3 separate regions of the Homo sapiens genome follow, and all the other regions are linked to region 1. The links are contacts of gene promoters, found by promoter capture Hi-C in human tissues and cell types (Jung and others, 2019). All regions are on one chromosome and are shown on one strand. Each heading gives the region's core, a stretch centred on a gene start or on the middle of the fragment in contact. The rest is flanking DNA. Distances are from core to core; before and after follow the strand shown. Region 1 holds the start of TTR (transthyretin). Region 2 overlaps B4GALT6 (beta-1,4-galactosyltransferase 6). Region 3 overlaps DSG2-AS1 (DSG2 antisense RNA 1).

Region 1 (3,600 bases), core at 1-2,500:
TGTAAATTCTTTAGCAGATGATGTGAGCCTCTCTCTACCAAGTGAGGGGCAAACGGGAAGATAAAACCAAGTCCTGTGGGAGGGTTCTTTGGCAACTTACCCAGAGGCAAATGGCTCCCAGGTGTCATCAGCAGCCTTTCTGAACACATGCACGGCCACATTGATGGCAGGACTGCCTCGGACAGCATCTAGAACTTTGACCATCAGAGGACACTTGGATTCACCGGTGCCCTGGGTGTAGAGAAGACACGTGAGAAGTTAACAAAATTGATCAGAGTGAAAGGATTTATTCTTTGTGGTATTAGAAATCTGGAGCGAAACAAGAATTACACACTGATCCCATTATCAGGAACGTAAGTGTCGACAATTAATGAGCTTCCCTACTCAGTATAACACAGACGTAATTGTTTCCAAAGCAAGAATGGTTTCTGCCTCCAGACACACTGCTATCAACCAGGGATGTGTATAATGAATTTTAAGGGAGAAAATAGGTCCCCTGAGAACAGTTGCTTTGTTAAAAGTCTCCATTTGAGTGGAATTACTGAAAAGATGTAATGTACCATACATAGGGCCAAACAGGTTTTCCTGAGATCATTTTAGTTGTTGCTATAGTCACTCCCTCTTACCAGTTGTTATAAAATAATGTCAGAACTACATCCAGACCCATTTTATAGTATTAGTTAATTCTTCTAGAGGATTTAAGAATTAGATATCTGACTAGAATATTGTTCACTAAGCCTTTTAAAGATTAATCAATAAATACGTTTTGAATAACTATAGGGCCAGAATATAATCTCCTGCAGTTTGTCCCCCAAATACATTTTATGGAGGGATACTTTTCTGAAAATTCAGTATTAACAGCTTCCTTAATATCATATCTTTATTTCTATCATCTATCTGAGGAAACAGAGGTACCAGATATTACAAACCTAATGCACCAAAGCAATGAGGTAGAATGCTCAGAGTTCAAGTCCCAGCTCAGTAAGCTCAGTGGAACTTCATTCTTTTTGAAGTTTGAATTAATTATATTAAAAATAGATGCTGGGTACCCTTGCCCTAGTAATAAAAGCTGGTTGGCAAAGCTGGAAGGAGTCACTTCTACTTCATTTAGCGTGAATCTTAAATGTAGGAATGGGATGTCACAGAAACACTCACCGTAGGGCCAGCCTCAGACACAAATACCAGTCCAGCAAGGCAGAGGAGGAGCAGACGATGAGAAGCCATCCTGCCAAGAATGAGTGGACTTCTGTGATGGCTGCTCCCAGCCTGGGGCTTTTATACTCACTTCTCCTGAGCTAGGCTGCTTATCCCTGCCAATCTGACTGCAAACCTGCTGATTCTGATTATTGACTTAGTCAACAAAGAGAGAATAAGTAACCCATACAAATATGAACCTTGTCTAGAGAGATTAGAGCATCGGAACATTCGTTCTATGAAATATTCTTAATAGGTCATTTGACCAGTTAGGTCACCAAAACAAAACAACCAAAACAAAACAAAACAATCAAAACAAAACAAAAATAGTCTTCTCCCTGTGTGACTGCGTGCACTAACATTCTTGGGGGTAATTTTTTCCTCCCTCACATATTTCTATGCATGTTTTCCATTTTTATAGATTTTTTGTCTCTCATTTTAGATGCAAGATTTTAGACAGATGCAAGTTGTAATAATGTATTTCATGTTGAATGACATCTAGCTGCACAGGCTTAAATATAGTGCATTAGAAAATGTTTGCACTTGATGGATCCATGGGTCAACAAGGAAAAACCCTTGGCAGTGCTCACATTTTTAAAAGCCTACATTTTAGCCAAACTAAGTCATTTGGAAGCTTTGCTTAGTCAGCAATTTCTCCACAATGTGTGTGTGCATGTGTGTATGTGTGTGTGTGTTCTGCCCAGATAAAGTCCACTTCAATCTAAGAATGGCATCTTCCCTCCCTCCCTTCCTTCCTTCCTTTTTTCCTTCCTTTTTTTTTTTTTTTTTGACAGGGTCTCACTCCAACGCCCTGGCTCGAGTGCAGTGGCACGATCACAGCTCGCTGCAGCCTTGACCTCCCGGGCTCAGGTCATCCTCCCACCTCAGCCTCTTGCCCAGGCTGGTCTCGAACTCCTGAGCTCAAGCAATCCACCCGCTTTGGCCTTCCAAAGTGCTGGGATTACACGTGTGAGCCACTGAGCTGGGCCAGAATGGCATATTTCAACCTGGCATTGATGCCCCTGAAATACAGAGAACCAAATCTTCTTTACTGACTCTTCTGCATTGGGCATGCAGGAACAAGGCTGACAGCTGGTTTTTGACAGAACCAAACTTGCTGGAAGAAAGTAGAGATGACTGTGAGAACCAGAAGCCATGATTGACAGCAGATTCTTTTCCTCCTGGCCGACTTATTAATACAAGTCCAGAAATTATGATGATTTGATGATTCATTACTCACATACAAAGTCTCTGTGTGTATGTGTGTGTGTGTGTGTGTGCGCGCGCACGCGCATGTGTGTGTGTGTCCACTAGCATGCGTGGCTTTGTTCATGGATAAACTAAGGCAGGTTTTTGTCCTTATAAGACAAACATGTAGAAAACATAGAGAAGACAAATATTTTGGACAAATACAAGCCAAGAGCAAGTCCGGTTTGGAGCACTAAGAATTGAGGGAACATTCCCATAACTGATAGAGTCAGATTAGAAAAAATTCAACAAGAAATTGTGAAGCACAGGAGCTTACAGGGAGTAGTGGAAGGGACAGAAAAGCCTTTCAGGAACATGAGAATGTGCAGGAGAGGACTCCGGGAGGTGGGTTGACCCCTCACAGCAATGAGCAAATGTAGTTGAGACCATAACTAGGAATGGAGTCTTAGACCCTTAGAGTTTAACTAGGAAGCAGCAGCAGAAAGACTTTTGCATTTGGAGTTGGATGACCAGAGTCATTCGATCCCAGTTCTGCTGCCCCGTTTCCCGGATGACCTTCTATGAGTTATCTACTATCTCAGATACTCGGCCAACTCGTTTGTAAAATAGAAATGCCTACTTTTCTACTTCAAAGGACTGTTCTAATAACTTTTAATATGAGAGGATGTACAAGCCTTTTGTAAGCTGTAAACCACTATCTTGCTGTAAAAGCATAACTAATAGAATTTGGTTCAACATCTATGCCTCAGGAGAGAATCCTTTCTCAAATAACATCTTTCATATATTGTCATCCAATATCCTCTTGATGATTTCCTATTGTTCAGAACCTGGATAGAGAGCCTTTTCTCTGGCTATGAATCATAAATATTTGGAAGTTCTTTCATAACCGAAGCAAAATCTACTGTGCACGCGTTTCAGCACTGCACCCTGTTGAAACTAAGAATCATCTCTTGTAGACCCTGTGAACTGGCAACGCTGGGCTGCCATCAGCCCATAGATATGTTATATTTGGGCTGCACAGAGTCTCTTTAAACATTTTGTAATAGTTGCCAAAATTAAAAATTGAGACATGCTGCATAAAAATTTGCATTTCTTGCTTCTCTTAAATCAAAAATATTGGCAGCTTTAGGCCAACATTTACACATGACAGTGATCATCAGAATGTCACTCTCAGACATCAAGACTCCCCAGGCCTCC
Region 2 (3,451 bases), core at 174-2,673, 37 kb before region 1:
GATGGTTTGGAGGGCCACAAAGCCCTCTCTTCTGCTGTTTATCTTCTTCCTAAGGTGTGCATTCTTGACCTGCCCTTTAATAATAAAAAAAAAAAACCCAAATCTTTTCCTTCTCTAATTGGAGATAATTTAAAATGAACAGTTATCAGAGCTGAGATAGTAACTTAAAAGGACATGAAAGAATGCAAGTCTAATATGGGAAAAGGATCACAGTTTTCATTGGCCTAATGGGAGTAGAGAGAAAATCTGTTTGTTGCTTAGGGCAGGAAGATGTTGCCTGTGTCACAGTTTTGCCTGGTGCTAATCTAGAGTACAGAGAAGCAAAAAGTCTGACACAAGCAGGAAAAGAATGCTTGTTTCTTTCTTCTTCTTCCTCTTCCTCCTCCCCACTCCTCCTCCCCACTCCCGCTCCCCTCCTTCCCCCTCCCCGCTTCCGCTCCCCTTCTTCCCCCTCCCCCCTTCTTCCTCTTCCTTCCTTCCTTCCTGCTTCTCCTTCTCCACCTCATCCTTCTCCTCCTCCTTCCTTTTTTTTTGCTGGTCATTGTTATCATTAGAAAACCTTTTTCTTTATTACCTCTGTATCTGAACTTTGAGTATGGGGTTACCTTGAAGAAGGCCATCAAGGTTCACAATCTGGTTCTCTTTTTCTTTTTTTTTTTTTTTTGAGACAGAGTCTCGCTTTGTCGCCCATGCTGGAGTGCAGTGGTGCGATCTCGGCTCACTGCAAGCTCTGCCTCCCGGGTTCACGCCATTCTCCTGCCTCAGCTTCCCGAGTAGCTGGGACTACAGGCGCCTGCCACCACGCCTGGCTAATTTTTTTGTATTTTTAGTAGAGACGGGGTTTCACTGTGTTAGCCAAGATAGTCTTGATCTCCTGACCTTGTGATCCACCCGCCTCGGCCTCCCAAAGTGCTGGGATTACAGGCATGAGCCACCGTGCCCGGCAACAATCTGGTTCTTACCACTTCTGGAAACTTGATTTCAGTCAGTTTGCTAGAATCACATTAGATCCAGGGTAACCGATTTTCACAAAAAAAAAAAAAAAAAAAAAAAAAAAAAAAAAAAATCATAAAGGGCATATAAACTAAGAATTCTAAATTAATTTATTGTTAAATTCTAAATGAATTTGTTGTCTAAATAATTTGTTGTTAACTTGAAAATATCAATTTCTAATAAAATACAGTTGACCCTTGAGTAATGCAGGGGTTACAGTGGTGACCACCTCCCCCAGCCACCGGAATGCAGTTGAAAATCTAGTATAACTTTTGACTCCCCAAAAGCTTAACTACTAATAGCCTACTGTTAGCCAAAAGCCTTACCAATAATATAAACAATTGAGTAACACATATTTTGTATGTTATATGTATTGTATACCATATTCTTACCATAAAGTAAGCTAGAGAAAAGATGTTATTAAGAAAATCATAAGGGAGGGAAAATATATTTACTGTCCATTAAGTGGAAGTGGATCATCCTGAAGGTCTTCATCCTCATCGTCCTCACGTGGAGTAGGCTAAGGAAGAGGAGGGATTGGTCTTGGGGTCTCAAGGGTGGCAAGGTGAAAGAATTGAAGATGGAAAAGGAGGCAGGAGAGGCACATTCTATGTAACTTTTATTGAAAAAGAAATTGTATATCAGTGGACTTGTGCAGCTCAAACCTGTGTTGTTCAAGCGTCAGCTGTATTCATATCCATCTAGACTAGTCCCTGGATTGGTTAGGCATCTTGGACGTTTGTAGAGAAATTAGAATGTAGCTCTAGGAGAATGGCAGTAGATCAAGGCCTGGTCTGGGCAGTGCATAGACTTCAGCTGTGGGATGAAGCCTGGTGAAGCGTCCCTGCCCCACAGTGATGGCCACACTACTGCTGACCAGAGAACTCAGACTCTCAGGTGTAGTGTCTCTCCCACTTTTACAGTGTAAGATAAACACTGCAAGAGTTTGACTTGTTGGGTTTTGTTTTCTCTTCTTTAGTTTATCTGTTATACCTTCATTTTACCTAATAACTTTCCATTATTCATATAGCACAATTGATTATTTCCACTTAGAGCAATAAATGGAATTGATAGGCTTGCTGATTTATACATGTCAATAAGCACACAGACACATTTATTCATGTTTCCCTATCTGACGATCTCAGGTTTTTCCTAAACTACTAGCCTGGGCAAGAATAATCCATCTGATGTGGGAAGTACACGGTGCCAAGAATGCTTATTGGCCCTGTGGAACCCCCAGCTAGTCTTACTGTAATACCAGAACACTAAGCTCCCAAGTGTGAGCCTTGAGAGGTCTCAGGAGAGTATGGTTGTCTTTAGGATCAGTGTTGCTGTTACCATCTTGGAGTACCTTTGACCTAGGATGAGGGCAAGACTGCTTTCTCCTACAACCCTAGGCTTCCATGAAAGAACCAGTCTTCCCTGGTCTGTGTGCCACACAAGACCCCAGCTGGCAAACAGCACGTCCTTCTCAGAATGTGAGGCGAGTGTCTAACAAAAAGTTCCCTCCTCTGAGACAGCTTTGCTGTGGTTGCAGCCAGGTTTCCCTCAGCTTGATTTTTGGGTGCTGTGCATGGTCACGTTTTCTCTGCTCTGGCATCTGCTCCCCAGGGGCGTGTTTCAGTCCATGGGAATATATTCAGGATTGCAGGTCTAGGGATGCTGCCTAAATGTCAGAAAGCCAATCTATACCTAAACACACAGTTTAGCTAAGTAAAAATATAGTTTAGAAAAGTTTAAAAACATTGCATCGTTTGACACATTCCTTGGAGTATGAGTTAGGAAAGGGTAAGGAAAATAAAATCCAAACAAAAATAGTTATTTCTGTAAATATCAATGCATTGAAAATGAATATATTTGTAAATATCCATGAATATTTTGAGAGTATAATTCCAACAGATAAGATCATTATAAAAGTAGGTAGCTAGACAATTAAATGCTAGAATTGTCTTTTGTAATTGATATTTATCCTGCTCTATATAATAAATAATGCGTTTATAATTCAGTTAATTTTTTCAGTGTTACTAGTTTAGGAACATCTGACATGCATTGACCATTATAAATATATTTAATCATGTTTACTTTTGCTGTGAAAATATACAATTTGGGGGCACTGGGTTTTGAGCCTTACAGATTTTATTTTGAGTCTTATTTGTATACTAAATATTAAATTTAGGTTTCCATAAGTGCTTTACATTTAACATAACACATGTACATGTACTTGTTTCACTAGAATATAAAAATGTTTTATGTCTTGGTGTACTTTACATTTTCTAACATAATTGTCTATATAGAATATAAGGGCATATTTTGCAAAGCACATAAAAGGCTGAAACCTTCATTTCACATGGGAAATTATTATGATTTTATTTTTAGAATACTGTGTCTTTCTTTTCTAGTCTTCCATATAAAGAATTTTTTGGTGGTGTAAGTGGGCTGACAGTGGAACAATTTAGAA
Region 3 (3,377 bases), core at 752-3,251, 41 kb after region 1:
CTTTATAACCAGGGATGTCCTTCTGAAGGACCTGGGGCTATCTTTTTGAAATGTTAACATCAAGGAAGCTAGCCTCCCTATCTTCCCATCTCCATGGGTGCTCGCTCCAAATTATAACTAGCTACCTATCAGAGAGATCTAAGAAGTTTTATTATTTCTTTGAATAAAGGCAATTAGCAAACACAATAGCCCCCTCAATTACTAGGTGAGTTTAAGATGAGCTATGTATGACAAACGGTGCTGTCAAATCCTCTGACTTGAGGACAAGCTATAGTTTATCTTGTGAACAGGTATGTTCTAAATGGCTGCATAAAAAGCAAGAACTTTTTGTCTTTGCAATTTCTTTTTTTTCTTCTTTTGTGAGATGGAGTTTCACTCTTATTGCCAGGCTGGAGTGCAATGGCGCGATCTCAGTTCACCGCAAACTCCACCTCCCGGTTCAAGCGATTCTCCTGCCTCGGCCTCCTGAGTAGTTGGGATTACAGGCACCTGCCATCTGCCCAGCTAAGTTTTTTATTTTTAGTAGAGATGGGGTTTCTCTGGTCAGACTGGTCTCGAACTCCTGACCTCAGGTGATCCGCCCGCCTTGGCCTCCCAAACTGTTGGGATTAAAAGCATGAGCCACTGTGCCCAGCCTGTGGTTTCTTTTCTCTCTCTCTCTTTTTTTTTTTTAGACAGAGTCTCGCACTGTTGTCCAGGCTGGAGTGCAGTGGTGTGCTCTCGGCTCACTGCAAGCTCTGCCTCCCAGGTTCAAGCAATTCTCCCGAGTAGCTGGGACTACAGGTGCCCGCCACCATGCCCGGCTAATTTTTTGTATTTTTAGTAGAGACGGGGTTTCACCATGTTAGCCAGGATGGTCTTGATCTCCTGACCTTGTGATCTGCCCGCCTCGGCTTCCCAAAGTGCTGGGATTACAGGCGTGAGCCCCTGTGCCCGGCCCGCAGTTTCTTTAGGAGCTACCTGTGATGTGCCTCACCTTCAGGGTTTAATGCTTATTCAATGATGACACTGTTTTCTTTCTCCTTTACTTTGTGGAAAGGTTTTTTAGGTTGAGAGGAAATTTTGTTGTTAGTTATATTTCCTCAGTAAGAGCAACCAATTAAAAAGTAAACACAAGCGGGTGTAGGTGAAAGGTCAACAGAGGTGCTACAGTGGAATCCTAAAGCATGCAGTACACAAAAGAAGTCAGGAAACAAGAGTGGAGAAAACCAAAAAACCAACAGAAAACCCAGGTGGACAAAGATAAAACAAATACAAAGATGGAAGCTTAAACTTATCCATATAAATAATTGTTGTAAAACCTTCTGATAAAAGTCAGAAATTGTCAAAATGGGAAAAGCCAAGACCTACCTGTATATTGTTTACAATAAATGTACTATAAAGGCACAGACAGGTGTCAAGCAAAAGGATCAAAAAGATATACCACGGAAGCACTAACCATAAGAAGGCTGGTATGGCTGTATTAATGTTAGGCAAGGTAGATTTCAAGACAAAGAATGTGTTAGAAGAAAAACTTCAGGCAAATTAAATTTTACAAAGTTGGCTGGGTGTGGTGGCTCACGCCTGTAATCCCAGCAGTTTAGGAGGCTGAGGCTGGTGGATCACTTGAGGCCAGGAGTTCGAGACCAGCCTGGGCAACATGGGGAAACCCCATCTCTACTAAAAAAAAAAAAAAAAAAAAAAATGCAAAAATTAGCCTGGTGTGGTGGCGTACACCTGTAATCCCAGCCCAGCTACTCAGGAGGCTGAGGAGAATCACTTGACCCTGGGAGGCGGAGGTTGCAGTGAGCGGAGATTCTGCCACTGCGCTCCAGCCTGGGTGACAGAGTGAGACTCCATCTCCAAAATAATAAAATAAATAAATATATAAACAAATTTTACAAACTTTAATTGAGCAAAGAATAATTTGCAAATTGGGCAGTACCTAAACCGGAGTAGATTCAGAGCCACGCTGGTGCTGCCACGTGGTCAGAGAGGATTTATGGATAGAAAAAGGAAGTGAGGTACAGAATAGCAGGACTGGTTACAGCTCAGGGTTTGCCTTATTTGAATGCAGTTTGAACAGTTGGCTGCCTGTGAGTGGTTGAAGTATTGCGGCCGTGATTGCCTCAGACAAGAGTAGGTTACAGTCTGTTTACACATCCAGTTAGGTTATAGTTCACTAAGTATGGAGAAACCTTCAGGCCAAACTTAAAATATGTAACAAGGGCCAGGTGTGGTAATTCACGCCTGTAATCCCAGCACTTTGGGAGGCCAAGGCAGGCGGATCACCCGAGGTCGGGAGTTTGAGACCTGCCTGACCAATATGGAGAAACCCCGTCTCTATTAAAAATACAAAATTAGCTGGGCGTGGTGGCGCATGCCTGTAACCCCAGCTACTTGGGAGGGTGAGGCAGGAGAATCATTTGAACCTGGGAGGCGGAGGTTGTGGTGAGCCGAGTTTGCGCCATTTCACTCACTTGAAACTCCGTCTCAAAAAAAAAAAAAAAAAAAAAGGAAAAGAATGTAAGGAGGCAGCTTTAGGCTAAAGGTAATTAGCAGTTATAAACAGAGATGAAGAGAGGCATTTCATAATGATAAAAAGATCAGTTCTTCAGGAACACAGTAATCCTAAATGTACTTGTACCTAATAACACAGGCAAAAAGTTTCAAAACACAGGAAACAAAAATAGAAAGAATTAAAGGGGGAAATAAGCAAAGCCACACTTGGGAGACTTCAACCTCTTAGTAATTAATGGAAACAGTAGACAAAGTAATTGGGAATGATATAGAGGATTAAAATAAAACATAATGAAACTAATAAATTTTGGTCCTTTAAGAAAGTCAGATTTAATGATCTGAAATGTCTCATTTTTAGGTGATATTTGGTTAGCAACGTCCTACTGTAGACATTTTGATGTGGTGGTGATTGGAATATGGTCTGCAGAGATCAACCAGAATTAGCTCCATGTGCCACTGGGAGTGGGAACTGAAGTCACGCAGGAATAAACCAGTCTTCATGCTTTAGGATGTTCTGATGTGCCATTGTCGTGAAATCTTCATTCATGAGACATTCCAGTTTACCGGCAGTGTCGACTAGAATATGCTACAGCCCCCAAAATACGTTTTTAGTATAAGGATTATTTTGAGCTGATTATTTTGAGAAATAGCAGACGCAGGAGAAACTCTGAAGACAGAACGTAAGTTTACCTTTTGTAAAGGGATTTACATTTATAAGGGAAATGTCCATTTGTAAGGCTGTCTCCCTCCGTACCGGAAACACGGGATGACTATAAGTGACAAAGAGATTAATTTAAATCTGCATGACAAATCTTACTCAAGCTTACCAGACTTTTCCTGGTCACCTTCCCATAACTTGTTTCCCCTGCCCAGAAGCC

What was found. The method cuts DNA at HindIII sites, captures the fragments that hold promoters and counts their contacts. A contact is called where the count stands out against the background at its distance.
Region 2: a contact is called between a fragment that was not itself captured here and the fragment with the promoter of TTR in region 1, in 2 of the 25 tissues and cell types used here (H1 embryonic stem cells and hippocampus).
Region 3: a fragment that was not itself captured here is called in contact with the fragment with the promoter of TTR in region 1 in 4 of the 25 tissues and cell types used here (aorta, heart left ventricle, hippocampus and 1 more).

Annotation. Positions count from the first base shown.
Region 1 is chr18:31,589,527-31,593,126 of GRCh38, reverse strand. TTR (transthyretin) reads right to left here and starts at 1,250. Exons shown (of 4, transcript NM_000371.4): 1 at 1,156-1,250; 2 at 101-231. The coding sequence starts at 1,224. The HindIII fragment of the contact is 7,126 bases long and covers 1-3,311 here.
Region 2 is chr18:31,627,063-31,630,513 of GRCh38, reverse strand. It overlaps B4GALT6 (beta-1,4-galactosyltransferase 6), which reads left to right. Exons shown (of 9, transcript NM_004775.5): 7 at 3,393-3,451. Among named protein-coding and RNA genes, the nearest start is that of TTR, 37 kb to the right of the region's middle. The HindIII fragment of the contact is 8,317 bases long and covers 1-3,451 here.
Region 3 is chr18:31,549,840-31,553,216 of GRCh38, reverse strand. DSG2-AS1 (DSG2 antisense RNA 1) reads left to right here. Exons shown (of 6, transcript NR_045216.1): 3 at 2,858-3,179. Among named protein-coding and RNA genes, the nearest start is that of DSG2-AS1, 5.4 kb to the left of the region's middle. The HindIII fragment of the contact is 3,865 bases long and covers 69-3,377 here.